2 separate regions of the Homo sapiens genome follow, and region 2 is linked to region 1. The links are contacts of gene promoters, found by promoter capture Hi-C in blood cells and fetal thymus (Javierre and others, 2016). All regions are on one chromosome and are shown on one strand. Each heading gives the region's core, a stretch centred on a gene start or on the middle of the fragment in contact. The rest is flanking DNA. Distances are from core to core; before and after follow the strand shown. Region 1 holds the start of NUDT5 (nudix hydrolase 5). Region 2 overlaps CAMK1D (calcium/calmodulin dependent protein kinase ID).

Region 1 (7,797 bases), core at 3,417-5,916:
TTACACTACTGAGATTTACCAATTATTTTCTAATATTAAAAGCTATTTTACTTATAGTCTCATTTACATAAGCTTATTATATATAAGCTCATTTATAAAGCAAATAGGTACACGTATTTGAGAATAAAACTGACTGGGCACAGTGGCTCACGCCTGTAATCCCAACACTTTGGGAGGCTGAAGCAGGTGGATCACCTGAGGTCAGGAGTTCAAGACAGCCCGGCCAACATGGTGAAACCCCATCCCTACTAAAAATACAAAAATTAGCTGGATGTGGTGGCGCACACCTGTTGTCCCAGCTAGTTGGGAGGCTGTAGCAAGAAAATCACTTGAACCTGGGAGGCAGAGATTGCAGTGAGCTGAGATTGAGCCACTGCACTCCAGCCTGGCTGACAGAGCAAGACTCCATCTTTAAAAAAAAAAAAAAAAAAAAAAATGCCGAGTGCGGTGGCTCAGGCCTATAATCCCAGCACTTTGGGAGGCCGAGGCAGCCAGATCACGAGGTCAGGAGATCAAGACCATCCTGGCTAAGACAGTAAAACCCCATCTCTACTAAAAATAAAAAAAATTAGCCAGGCGTGGTGGTGGGCGCCTGTAGTCCCAGCTACTTGGAGGCTGAGGCAGGAGAATAGCGTGAACCCGGGAGGCAGACCTTGAAGTGAGCTGAGATCACGCCACTGCACTCCAGCCTGGGTGACAGAGCGAGACTCTGTCTCAAAAGAAAAACAAAACAAAAAAAATTATATCTGTAAATATCCTAAAGTTGAGACTTATCTGACTTTCCTACTGTTTCCTCAGCCTCAAATTATTCAAAGTTAATGAGGCGCTACATTAATAATTTTCAGGTTATTGAGGCTCTGTGAATACCAAAAACAGAAATATAATCCAGAAAACCACACTAAAAACCCAACAGGCAAAAATATGGGGTCCAGTTAGTAGTACTGAAAACACACAATTCTTACTGTATTTCTATAGTTCCTTCATCCAACAAATGTTTATCAAGCACTTCTGCTATATCAGGCACTGTTCCATGAGCTGGGGTGAACAAATGGGCCAAGTCCCTGTTTTCATGAAACTGCATTCTAATGGAACAATTAACAATTGTCAGGTGGAAGTAAGTGTTATGCAGAAAAATGAAGGGAGGTCAGGGCATAGGGTTACTGTCAGGCTATTTTAGAAAGGCTGGTGAGGGCTGAACACTCATAACGTGACTTCTGAGCAGACTCGAATTAAAAAATGAGAACTTCACTAAATCCTATGATTCTTCAACGTTTTCAAGTTTGCATCCAAAAGACTGAAACACAGTAACTTCTTCCCTTTATTCTATAAATAGGGAAACTACCTGAACAGCTTCTAGAAAGTGGAGGGGGGGCCACGGTAGTTCAATCGTGGGGAAGAAAATGTTGAGGAATTAGATGATAAAGCCTGTTTGCAACAGTGAATTTTTAATCGTCAAAACTGAAGGATCTCAAAGAATTTTAATATGTACTTCCCCCACCCTGCTACCGTCAGAAGGAAAAGTTGTCATCATAACTGTTTTCTAAAGACAGAGATGAAAGGAACTGCTCAATTTCACAACTTGTAATTATTAGAGGGAAAAGTACTTAATGTTGAAAATATTAAGTGAACATTGAGAAGGAATATGAGACAAAGATCAGCACATCATTTTGGCTAGGAGAGAAAAAGAGCTAAAGGGAAAGAATGGTGCCTAAGCTAATTCATTCATTTTATGTGTTTCTTTATGATAAAGTTTAAGAAATTTTTTTCTAAAATACTTTACCTTCCTGAAACCACCAGAGTTCCATCATCGAGTAAATAATCCTTCACATTCTGAGGAAGTGGAAGAATGACACTAAAAAAAAAACACCAAAAAAGGCATCATTTTAAAAGACCAACTATAAGCAGAGAGAAAAATCTCTACACTTGATTAATTTTGGAATTGTCTTTCTTTTAATATAAAGTAGAAAATGTTAATGATGTACATTTGGTAGCAGTAGACAAGAAATCAGAATAATAAGATTACTGCGGTTCATCTTATTGCCACAATGGTCTTTGTAGTAAACAAAAACCAGCCAAATCCAAACCACCAGATGGAAATCACAGTATGAAAGCAACAAGCTCAAAAGGATTCTGAGTGAGCACAACATTTATGTGTCTTTAAGAAATCAGAGACCAGCAGATATTTGCTGCAACACAGGAAATGCAGCAAACCCAACTAGAAGATGACTAGCATTTGGTCACCTTCTAAAGATAGAGGGCAGAAGTAGAGTCAAGATCTGGAAACCATTCTTGGGTTGGCAGTGAGCACCTACCGCTAAGAATTCATGATACTTTTGGATGTGTCTTGCTGGCTTTCTATTCAACTGATCACCAGAGATATAAAGCTGCTTAAACTAGGCATGCTTTAGCTTAATTTGTTTCAGGTAATCATAATTAAGGATGGCAAAGCCATACCTGAAGTCTCTTAAAAACTTATGGGATAATTTGTTTTTTACCTTGAAATAATAAATTATCAAAAAGCCCTACCACAGATCCCTAAGAGTGCTGGTATTATTTTGATTTTGAGGCATATACATCTTCAAAAAGTGGAAAAGATTACAGCCTGCTTTCCCGAAGTTAACAGAACATCAATGACTTATAACATGTCTCATTTATTTATGGAAGAAGTTTTTTTTGGCACATTACAAATGGTTTTTTTGCACAAAAAAGAGTATTCATGGGCTACTTCGGTTTTAAAAATAAGTATTTTTATTTATTTTTAAATAAATAAAAGATCACTGCCACTGCACTCCAGCTTGGGCGACAGAGCAAAAACTTCGGTTTTAAAAATAAATATTTGATTTATCAAAGGTACAATTTCACATTCAAAAATCTAGTTCTGGCCGGGCGCGGTGGCTCACACCTGTAATCCCAGCACTTTGGGAGGCCGAGGCGGGCGGATCACGAGGTCAGGCAATCGAGACCATCCTGGCTAACACGGTGAAAACCCCGCCTCTACTAAAAATACAAAAAATTAGCCGGGGGTGGTGGCGGGCGCCTGTAGTCCCAGCTACTCAGGAAGCTGAGGCAGGAGAATGGCGTGAACTCGGGAAGGGAAGCTTGCAGTGAGCCAAGATCGCTGCCACTGCACTCCAGCTTGGGCGACAGAACAAAACTCTGTCTCAAAAAAAAAAAATCTAGTTCTTCAGGCTTTTAATTTCTTCTAACAAATCTTATTACGTTTGAAAATCTACTAAATTTTAAACAATTTCAAGCGAAACTTTGCAACTTAAAAGTCTCTTTAAAATTTTAAATTCTATTCATAAACCACTCAATTTTCTTTCTTAATATGTCTATTTGCTGATTACAAATAAGCCTTCCTAAGTATTTTACTCTTACAAAGCTAACAAGCGAAATTGTTAAGTACAATGAATCTAAGGTTCTACCACACATTCCAATACTATTTAAGAACTTGAAACTTTTCTTATACATTTTAACCATTCTAAGCCAGTTACACATTTTCAAGTACATATCCGATCTTTATTGAATGAAACCATCATATAATGAATCAGCAATTACTGAAATGTTGGCTCAGAAAATCAGTTAAGTGCAAAGCCCAGATTTTCTATCAACGCCTTTAAAAAAACTGAGAGATGAAATTGTATATATTAATACTTGCCGCCTACCTGATGTTTTTAAGTATATATACACTGTGGAATAAATTTAGCTAACAAATGCATTGCCTAACATAGTTATTTTTGTGGTGAGAACACTAACATCCACTCTCCGTTTTTCAAGAATACGTATATCGTCATTAACTATAGCCTCCATGCTGTACGACATATCTGTGAACTTGTTCTCGTATCTAACTGTAATTACGTATCCTTTCACCTTCCCAATCTCCATCCTCTGGGGTGATGGCGAAAAGCAATTAATTCTCCGAGTGCACTTAGGCAGTGATCACCTTGCGCCTGGGGCCATTCTAAAAGTAGTGGTGGTGAACTCCCAAGCCTAAACTAGGTTAATCCACTATTCCTCCCGCCTCCGACCCTCACTGAAAACCACAACTGACCCTCCTAGCCAGCACACTCGCTGGCTCGCAACAGGACGCAGACAATTGCTGATGTACTTCCCTCTCGACACACTCCCTCCCATGCAGTCGCTAGAAGGCCTGCATTTTTTTGGATAGCAGTAAGATTCGCTCAGAAGTCGCAGTTCCCTTTTGCCGGTCGACCGGGCGAACCCCCTCCCATCTCACCTCTTGATGGTAACGCCTCGGAAGAACGGGTACCACGCGGAGAACTGGCAGTGAAGCACATGCTCCTTCTTCATCCTCCAGCTGCCGCCGCTGCTGCCTTTCCCTCTCCTGCCTGCACCCTCCCGGAACTCTGGGCGCCGGCCCCGGAAGTGCCCGCCGAGCTATTTTGGTTCAAGGACTCTTCCGGTCCCTAAAGCAAGAAGGAAGACCGAGAAAAGGAAGCGGAGGAGAATCCCGGGGCATACGCTTGACACACACGCATACAAAAAGAGCTTTAGTCTCGAAAGAGGAATTACCGAAGTGTCGAGAGAGGAATTTTAAGAAGTTTACAACTCCGTCTTCGCCCTAAACGCACGCTGACCCGGAAAGTAATCTCCTGAAGCTAGGTCAAAGGCGGGGGTTCTACGGATGCCGGAAGGAGGGTGCGCGCCCATCCTTTTAGCACCGCGAGAGGCGCCGGTGTTTCGAGCCGTGGCACCGGCATCGGCTGACACTGCTGCCTCCAGCTAGTTATTTCGTCCTCTTCCGTTCTTCACCCCTACACCTTGGAGTAAGTAACCGGGGCAAGCCAGTCACAGCACAAAACCTCTTTGGGGAGGAGAAGAAGAAGGGGAAAGGGACCACATCTGCATGGTGCGTGCAGCCGCGCGGTGTCTCCCAGGCTGCGGCTGGGCACGCGTCCAGGCGCCCAAGAGGGAAACTGGGGATTGGAGGGAAATTGTGGATTGGAGAGGAAGAGCCTGGGCTACTCCGAGTAAAGAAAGCGGGGAACACCACAGCTAAGTGTTAGTTCCAGTGTAAAGATTGCAGCATCTGCAGAGGAGTAGAATGCTTGGTAGAGGGAATACCGCCTGTACGATCCTGGAGGGTTCGACTTTGGGAGGTAAAAGGCGAGAGGTAAATGTGAGAAAGCAGAGGAAAGAGGAGTCTCCTTGGAGCGCTGAATTCGTTTAGTCTGGCCTCGCAAAAGTTGTCAACCTGGAAAAAACGCAGATTTTTATCAGTATTCCTGCGATGATCGAATCATAAGACTGGAAGAATTCGAATCGAACTTGTACTATCGTTTTTTCCTTTGCTTCACTCCTGTCACCCAGCAAAGTTCAGTTTTGTTTGTTTCGTTAAAAGAATGAGAAGTAACTAGCTGCTTTTATTTATTTATTTGAGACGGAGTCTCACTCTGTGCCCAGATTGGAGTGCAGTGGCGCAATCTTGGCTCACTGCAACCTCCGCCTCCTGGGTTTAAGTGATTCTCCTGCCTTAGCTTCTCGAGTAGCTGAGAGCGCGCGCGCGCCACTACGCCGGCTAATTTTTGTGTTTTTAGTAGAGACGGCGTTTCACCATATTTGCCAGGCTGGTCTCGAACTCCTAACCTTAGGTGATCTGCCCGCCTCAGCCTCCCAAAGTGCTGGGTTTACAAGGCGTGAGCCACGGCCCCGGGCCTACCAACCAGCCGCTTTTAACCCCTAGTCGTGTCGCTTACCACACGAGCTTTAGGCTTGCGCGAGGCATCTGCGTCTAAAAGTATCTCCTTAAATGTACATTCTTCCTGGTTCACCTAAGTAGTTTTAAATTAGAAACAGCCCCACCGACTGCAGGCCTCTTCAGAAGGGTGTTCCTTAGAATAATAAACAATTATCTGCGTATTTTGAGTTAGAAACTCTTCCCCCCAGGAATATATACATTGTTTTGGGTTGTGTTTTGTTTTTCTCAAAAATGTTACTGGCTAAGTGGCTAGTTGGAAGCAGTGCTTTAAAGAATACATTTTCAAAGCAGAGGTAAATAGATTATAATGTTGCAGAGTATGTTGGTGGGGATGGACAGTCATGATTCATCATTTATGCCTTGATCCGGAACTATGCAGTCCTTTCTGATTTGAGGGAAAGAAGCAATATTGTATATATGTCTGGAGGGTGGTGCCAGAAAGACTTAATGGCAGACAGGAGCAGTCGCTCAAATAATTGTTTTGATTTGACTTAGAAAGTAAAAAATTGCGCGGAAGGAGATGTTAGCATCGATGGGGGATTTATTTAGGTCAGATGTTTTCTAATGAAGATAGGAATGAATGTACGGAAGAGAATAGATCCCGGGAACATAGCCCTTCTGCGAGGAGCAGTACTTTAACAGCCCAAGAAACATTTGAGCATAGGCCGGGCGCGGTGCCTCATGCCTGTGATCCCAGCACTCTGGGAGGCCGAGGCGGGCGCATCACCTGAGGTCAGGAGTTTGACCAGCCTGTCCAACATGGCGAAACCCCGTCCCTACTAAAATATCAAAAATTAGCCGGGCGTGTTGGCGCATGCCTGTAGTCCCAGCTACTCGGGAGGCTGAGGCAGGAGAATCGCTTGAATCCGGGAGGCGGAGGTTGCGATGAGCCGAGATCGCGCCACTGCACTCCAGCCTGGCAACAGAGCGAGACTCTTTTTTTTCCGTCTCGGGAAAAAAAAAAAAAAGAGTGTAGAGATTAAGGCAGTTGCAAAGCTTTAATATAGAATTGCAGTTGTGTGTAGAAAAGCAGCTAAGTTTGTAAGCTTAAATATATAGATACTACAGGGAAGGAATTTTTATAGATACCTTTTATTCAGGCAGTATACTTTAGAAGTGTGTTCAATGACTTTTTGGTATTACAGTTGGTTTTAAGTAACTTGTTACACATTTAACCAGCATCAAATAAATTGACATTATACATAGGAGATGCTCAAATACTTTGAATGGATACAGCTAAATGAGGGTTCACTGTATTTTAACCACCGTGGTTGTCTTCACTAAGCCATGAAGTCATTGTATTCATCAAGTTTCTCCAATAAAACCTTTCAACAGTGGAAATATTTGCTTTTTCTCCTGCATGCTGAAAAGTCAGTAGTCATGTGATTATGGGGGAGGAGATTTATTGTGCAATTCCTAATGAAGTAATGAAAAAACACATTTCTTTCTCTGAATCCATAGCATGACTAATCATCCTAGATTAAGATTTTCACCTGTCTGCTGGTTTTCTTCATCTGGATGTCTGCTATCACCTCAAACAAGCGTGTACAGATTTGAGCTCTGCATCACCCCTTTTTTCTTCCGATGTCCCAGTCTCCCTTAAAACTGTCTTCGTGGAAATTAAATGTCACTTTGCCACGGCTACCACTCTACTCCAGACCTGTCATCTCCTGCCTGGACTATCTTTACAGTGTCGTTACTATACGTCTGTAACCAATTCACCTTCCCAAGGGTCATTACAGTCAGTTCACTCTTGCTCAACCAGCATTAAATGTGAGGATTTTAAACCACCTGCTAAATGATTCCTGGAGATCACCAAGTAGCATAATTTCAGTAAACGTTAATTACTCCCTGCCCACCCAACTGCCACACCTGAAGAGAATGAAAAAAAAACCCATAAGTGAATTCAATTGTGGGTACCCAAATTTTTTACCATAAATGGCACAAAAGAAGGATACATCAGAATATTATCCTTTTTTTTTCTTTTGAGACAGAGTCTCGCTCTGTCGCCCAGGCTGGAATGCAGTGGTGCAATCTTGGCTCACTGCAACTGCTGCCTCCTAGGTTCAGGCTTTTCT
Region 2 (7,513 bases), core at 1,133-3,632, 520 kb before region 1:
AGCTGAAGTCTAGATGCTGGGCTGTGGGGCATCCATCCAGGTGAATGCCACTTGTTGGGGGCCCTGCTTCCATGGCCACCTGCCCTTCCCCACATCTGACCACATCCTAACAAACATCTGCAACTGAAGGGAGGACATGTAGGGGTCCCCCAATCCTCCTTTCTTCCTTTCTCCCTGCTCAGATTTCTACAAACATGGATCCTAGTCCGCATTCCCTCCCTGTTTCTTTTTGGTTTTTGATCTGACCAATAAGCCACCAGTGAACAACTGTGTACCGTGCCGACAGAGAGACCATTCCGGCCTCAAATGTCATTGCTGTGAGAAGCCAGTTAGCAATGGGCACCCCTGGAATTCGTGGGAGCAAAGTTAACCCAATGCTGCACTTCACCAACCTCAGGGTAAAACGCAACTCATGGAAACCTCAAAGCTGAAACAGGACTTAGATAAACTAAAGGCATCGTCCACAAGTTGCCTATCATTTGACTTCTTAAAAGCAGCACTCACTTGGTGAAACCCTGTTACTACTAAAAATACAAAAAATTAGCCGGGCCTGGTGGCGTGCGCTTGTAATCCCAGCTACTCAGGAGGCTGAGGCAGGAGAATCGCTTGAACCTGGAAGGCAGAGGTTGCAGTGAGCCAAGGTGGCGCCATTGCACTCCAGCTTGGGCAACAAGAGCAAAACTCCATCCCAAAAAAAAAAGGGAGGCACCCACTTAACAGAAACTCTAAGGAGATCTGAAATAGGTACCATGCCTCCGGGAATGTCAAAACCATCTTTTCCATGGAGAAGTATATATTTTTTACATGCTCATGCCTCCCTCCTTTCACAGAGGGTGGGCTCTGAGGCTCTCCCAGGTATGGAACTGACAATGAAGCTGGCTGCTGCTAAGCTCAGTACCCTCCCCTTCGCTGCTTTACTTTTCTCATCAGTACAGGGGTGTGTGTGTAGGCGGGGGAGATAATAGAGTCTAATTCTCTGAGCCTGATAATCCTACAGCTGAATCTTCCCCTCCGTTATGGACTGAATGTTAGTCTCCCCTACCCCTAAATACACACGAAACCCTAACCCCCAGTATGATGGTATTAGGAGATGGAGCCTTTGGGAGACGATCAGGTTAGATGATGTCAAACAAATGGGGCCCCCAGGATGCGATTAGTGTCCCTATAAGAAGAGACGCCAGAGCCCTCTTTTTGTCCACCATGTGAGAACACAGTGAGAAGGAGGCCGTCTGCAAACCAGGAAGAGAGCCCTCACCAGGAAGTGAATCAGCCACCACCTTGCTCTGGAACTTCCACCCTCCAGAACTGTGAGAAATACACATCCACATTGAAGCTGCCCAGTCTACAGCGTTCTGTTGTAGCAATTCCAGCTAAGACACCCTTCTTCACCCTGTGTGCCCCTCCATGGCGCTGCTGCAGGCTGGCTTGGTATTATAGTTATGTGTGCGCCTGTCCTAGCTGTGAGTACTCTAGACACAGGGCTGCATCCTGACATTCCTGAACCTGCAACACTGACCCCAGCAGTGTGACGCTTCCAAAAACATCAGCTCCTATTGTCCCTGGAGAGCTTCAGTTGAAGGAGAGCGGAGCTTCCCTTAGGGTGGCCCTCAAGCTTCTTGGTGAAGTTCTTAAAAGCATCTTCCACATCTGCTATGTCCTTTGTACCTGATAAAATGCACAAATCAGCAAATAAACCTACTCTGCCCCTCAAAAGCATCAATCAACAAAGCTAACAGAGGAACAGCTGATACATTTGCCGATCACATTTTCCACTGAAAAACTTAGGAGAAACCTGATCTGTTGGTAGGGCACACAGAAAATCTGAAATTACGTCTGAGAAAAACATTTTACCTTTATGGGAGGTATACATCTAAATAGAAATATAAGGACAGAATTTTATTTTGGACCAAGTTATTTTTCATGGCATATTGAAAAACGAACGTTTGATCATCACTGCTGTCAATGTTGCCTTCATTCTAGACTAGCACTGGTGTTTCTGTAAAAACAGGGTGTAGACAGAGTAGATATTTAGATCTGCTAGAAAGGACAGAGACCAAAGTGGTGTGAGGACTCCGGCTCCGGGCCAGAGCGTCCTTCCCTGCCTCATATTAACAGGGAACGCAATGACATTCACCTCTTCTTATGAGAATGCAGAATATTTTACCTGGCACTGCTCTCTCTGAAAAGAGCAGCAAGCAGTACCAAGAAGCAGCAAATACCCTGGCAGATGATTTTAGGATCTCCATACTCTGACAAAGAAAAATATAAATGAACATAAAATGTAAAACATTCTGAAACTCCAAAAGGCAGGAATGAAGGGAATACGTGAGAGCTCTTCCAACGATGCATTCTCATGCATATTTATCTACAAGACAGCCTGCTGAGTTCATTACTGTCTATCACAGAGGGACTGAATTTCCTTTGCCTTTAAATGCCTGTCCCCTAAAGCAAGGTTCAGTTTCTCGCTCTGTGTTTTCCCCCTTAGCCTGCAGGTGGCGCCCCCGTTCCAGTCCCCTATGACCACTGCTGAAAATGGCTAGATCTTGGATTCCTCAGAAACAAGTTCTTGCCACATCACCTTATGCGACTGAAACAGGCGGTTTTCTCTTTTGCTTTTAGCCAGAACCCAACTGTTCCTGGAATCACAGGGCCAGAAGACTTGATTAAGCTGAAATTAATACCAAGAAATAGAAGGGGAGAAAAAGAGGACAGACTTTCATGACTGGGAGCTCTATCCAACAACAGGCTTATGTGGGAGGTGGATTTTGACTGCATGATGAAATACACAAGCAATACATTCAAAACCTTAATCCACCCAGCAAAGATCCATGGTATATAGTCTGAACAAGTTGATGAAAACTCCAATAGTGATTGATCAAATGTCAAAGGCAACAGACATTTGGATAACTTTTTATATACCCTGGTGTACACTCGGAGGTACATATCGCCGGTGGGGTTGTGTTCAGCCTGGATGTCTTTGTTTATATACCAGAGGTTCTGCTGTGTGATTAGTTATTTGTTCTTAGTGGAATACAGTGTAGGTCTTTACACACTCCCCCTCTTGCCTGGGTCCTGACTCCTAAGGTTGCATTTTCACTGGGAAAGGTTGGATCGCATTCTGGGCAGCAGCAGGTGGCTGAATCCAAGCTTGCTGGTGGCAAATTATCCTGGCCCCCATCCCACAACTTGCAGGACCTGAGCCCGAAAGAAGTCTGTACACCTGGTCTCTCAAGCCACTGTCAAGAGGGCTAAAAACTTTGACGTACAAAAGACTGTATCGAAGGCATTTGTTTCTTCTCTGTCTTTGTCACTAATCTGTGGGCTCTTTATTTTTCATGTTCATATTTTCCATAGCTCATGTCATTTCTAGCATATAATAGATGCTCAATAAACATGTACGGAATGAATGACAGGGTACAGCCAAATTACCGAAAGTTATCAAGACACTGTCCAGAAATACTCTGGTGGCAGTAGTGTGTTACTTACAACGTAAATCAATGTCATTACGTCGGGATCCAGCTGTTGTGCCCATTTACAGAAATATACTTTAGGTTCTAAGTGGGAAAATTAAAGAAGAAGTTAAGTGTCTGTGAAGCTGATAGTTACAAACGGTAACACTTAATTTTCTTCTGAAAGATGATATACTGCTCTAAGCATTTATATAGTATTTCATTTAATCCTCATGACAATCTCTGAGGTAAATACAACTATGATCACATTTTAGAGGAAACTGAGGCACAGAAAAGTTAAGAAGTTTGCTCAAAGTCACACGGTAACTTGAAGAGTCAGGATGCAAACCTATGCAGTCTGACTCCAGAGCTGGGGAAACAAAAACAAGAAACTGCAGGCATCGACTCTGCGTCCTTCAATTCCCTTCCTACTGGCTTTTTATCAAAGGTAATCTTTCCTTAGACATTTCCCAACTGCTAAATATGCCTACAATCCACCAGCTACCACATAATAAAAAAGTTAAACAAAGTAACAAAACTCAGCAGAAATACTTTGAAGCTGATTAAATCATAAATTTGAATGTTTTCCCGAGGCAGTAAGTAAATAGATATTTTCATGGATGTTGCTACAGAGAGGAAACTGAATCACTCCATAATCCTACAGCTATACAAGATATCGGGTGACAGATTAAAACACACAGGCCCTCCTCTCCACCTCTATGTACCTAGAGCACTAAGTTTCCTTTTCTTGTGAAAAAGCTTCTTGCTGTTTCTGAGTTTGCAGACTCTTAGCTTTGGGCTGTCTCAATACTAGATATTTTTATTCCCCTAAGATTTCAGAATGCATTCAGTTCTTTGTATCTGTCATATTTTCATTTTCCCTCCTTAGACTCTGCATTGCAAAGTCCTTTCCATTTGCGAGTTTGTTTCAACAATGGCAAAGAGGTGGGGACAGCTGGTGCCTTCTGCAGCCACTGTCTCCCTTTACCAAGAAAAAAAAAAAAATCCTCCAACCACGGCCTTAGCACTCCTCACATTTTCTCAGCCAAGAATTTTCTCAGCTACAATGTATTCCATCTTTACAAGCCCACAAGGCCTTTTTGTTTTTTTCTAATTTTCCATTTATATAACTGTGGAGGCTCCAAGCTCCAAGTCGGCTTTCCCAGAGCCTCCACAAAGAGGTTCTCACCCGCCCCCCACATAGGTGACTCACCCAGGAGGAAGGTCTGACAAGGAGGAAAGATGTCTGAGGCTTGGACCTGGGTAGCCACCTTCTGCCAAAAGATCTGTGCCCCCCACTCCCATGCCACAGTTCAGGCCCCAGGGCATGGGTGCCTGCTCCCTTGGCTGAGACTCGAACTGGGATGCCGTTAAGAGATGCAACTCCGGGTCGGGCGTGGTGGCTCACTGACTTCAAGTGATCCTCCTGCCTCGGCCTCTCAAAGTGCTGGGATTACAGATATGAGCCACCACGCCTGGCCTAATGGGATCATTGAAAACAAGCCCCACTACATCAAACAAGTCATCCATATTTAATAACCAATAATATCGTAGATTAGGAAGATCCTATTACCAAAGAGTCCCTAACAACCTCAAAATGAATAGAAGAAAACAGCCCACCTGTCCAAAAGGCCATGATGCTTATACTGTCTTGGGAGTTAATATCTGTAATTCAAGGAAACTGGCACTTTTAAAGAGGATAGGGACATGCAAATTATATTACAGGCAAAGCGTCAACTCTTTTGCTGAGGCCGTCTGAAGCTTTATAGAAACAAGTGCAAAAGTATATTATGGAGCTTAATGAAAAAATAAATTGTGTTTACGTGATCTTAATCACAGTTTTATTATTCTATATTGAGATCCAGCTGGGATCAGGGATTGGGTGGCAAGAAGGGAAGGGGGAGTGCACAGCATATGCGTTACTCTTCCTCTGCTTCTGTGCCCATCAGATGGAGTTACGGCGCTTCCTTCTTCTCCTTCCCTCCCTCCCATCACCACCCAAACTCCATCTCTTTCATAAACAGCATGTAAACGTATCAGTCGCCACTGGGACTTTAAGAACGTCTCCCAGGCATAAGCTGGGAGTGCACTGTCATTGCAGGATACTAGCCCCACAGCACAGGTGGCAGAGTGCAAGAGGTGCATACGTGGAACCTCTGGGGGGACTATTAAGGCCCTCACTAAAACCACTGTGTGTGCAGCACTAAATAAAATGTATTGTGTTGTAGAAATGTATTCTGACCTTTAGAGAGCGAAGGTTAAACTAAATACAATGGGGGCTCTAGCCGTGGCAATGACAATGCTGCCTCGGTCACTCTTAGGCAAAGTCTATCATAGGATTCCACGTAGGGTTACAGGTCGGGCAGAGGGGGGATCCCATTTACTGAGTATCTCCTATGGCCTGCACTCTGTGCTAAGCATATTTAAATCCTTATAAATCCTCCCAACAGAAGGCCTTGGAGGGAGCATGTTTATGGCTAATTTCACAGCTATGAACGTAGGCTCTGAGAGGGTCTTGCCAAACATAATAAACTTCAAAGGCAGGTATGCGAGGCCCCCTGGTGTTCTTGCTATGCCATGCTTCCTCAAAACATTTACTTGTCCTCCTCATACTCAAAGAATCCAAGAGAGATTAGAGACAAGAAACTATCATGTTGAATAAATTGGCCTCTGCCCTCTAAGTTCTGGAATTCCCCAGAGCTGAGCAAGCCTTCCCTTCCCTAGCTCTCTATTTTCTGACTGTGCTCATTCTGCGTCTGCTCTATAACAAGCTCCAGCAGACATTTCCTGTCCTTCCTCCGCAGGCTTTGGCCACCTGCCTTGCTGCCAATGTTTTATTTGACCCTCTACCTCTCCTCTCCTTTTTAATAAACACTTTAAATTCTTGTTGGGAAGAGGATATGGGATGCCAAATTGGATTACTAAGTGAGAACTCAAAATCAAAATGACACAGATCACATTTTACCCCAGTCAACACAAATAGAACAACAAAAACTTAACATATTCAAAACAAAAACACATGATTATAATACTACTTCTGATATGCCAAGCTTACAGTGAAACCTTAATTAGTCAGGCCTCCACTAACTGGCACGCTGAATAACTGGAATTAATTTTTTCTGAATTCTGTTTTTAAGCAAAAGAAGCAAGAGACAGCTAAAGTACATCCACTGCTGGCTGAAAGGAGCAAATTCCAGGCTATGTCCTGGGGCTGGGATCTGTCCACCTCTCCTTCCGTAACTCCTATCTCTCTCCAGCTGGAAAACTCTTTTATGTGCCTGTTAAGTTGTATTTTAAATATCTTTGTGATGGGTAATGTCTTCCCAAACCGCACAGTTTGTCCGTCTTCCTTTAAAATCCCAGATACCTTCATATGTATCTCCCTCTATTCTAGCACGTCCCACCCTAAATGGCCATCATGCTGATATATCTGTTTCCTCCTATGGACCAAGGGCCGAGTTATCACCTACTTCTGTGTTCCAAGAGCACAGCACAAAGCAGATGCTCAAAGGTTGCTTGTTTCAAAGAATAACTGAGGGAATGAATGGAAAACAGAGATCTTTTCTACATTCTTTTTTTTTTTTTTTGGAGACAGGGTCTTACTCTGTTGCCCAAGCTGGAGTGCAGTGGCACAATCTTGGCTCCCTATAATCTCTGCCTCCCAGACTCAAGTTGTTTACAACAAAAACACATGATTATAATCCTCCCACCTCAGCCTCCCAGGTAGCTGGGACTACAGGTGTACCCACCATGCTCAGCTAAGGGTTTGAAAAATTTTTTATAGAGATGAGGTCTCACTATATTGCCCAGGCTGGTCTTGAACTCCTGGGCTCAAGAGATCTTCCTGCCTTGACCTCTCAAAGTGCTGGGATTGCAGGTGTGAGCCACCACACCCAGCCCTTTCCACATTCTATCTCCATCTACACTGCTGTGCTGTGGTACTGAATTTCAGAAGGACGACACGGTAGCCCCCTTAGCCTCAGTTTCAGTTACCTGCCGTCAACTGCGGTCTGAAAATATTAAATGGAAAATTCCACATATAAACAATTAATACAGTTAATAAA

The links. Contacts are between HindIII fragments. The CHiCAGO score rates a contact against its expected background, and 5 or more counts as called.
Region 2: a contact is called between a fragment that was not itself captured here and the fragment with the promoter of NUDT5 in region 1, in 1 of 17 cell types (fetal thymus). The highest score is 7.1, in fetal thymus.

Annotation. Positions count from the first base shown.
Region 1 is chr10:12,192,760-12,200,556 of GRCh38, reverse strand. It overlaps NUDT5 (nudix hydrolase 5), which reads left to right and starts at 4,666. Exons shown (of 10, transcript NM_014142.4): 1 at 4,666-4,787. It overlaps CDC123 (cell division cycle 123), which reads right to left and starts at 4,369. Exons shown (of 13, transcript NM_006023.3): 1 at 4,238-4,369; 2 at 1,781-1,852. The coding sequence starts at 4,311. RefSeq lists an enhancer at 4,353-4,622. The HindIII fragment of the contact is 3,617 bases long and covers 3,101-6,717 here.
Region 2 is chr10:12,706,265-12,713,777 of GRCh38, reverse strand. All of the region lies in intron 3 of CAMK1D (calcium/calmodulin dependent protein kinase ID), which reads right to left. Among named protein-coding and RNA genes, the nearest start is that of MIR548Q, 15 kb to the left of the region's middle. The HindIII fragment of the contact is 1,535 bases long and covers 1,615-3,149 here.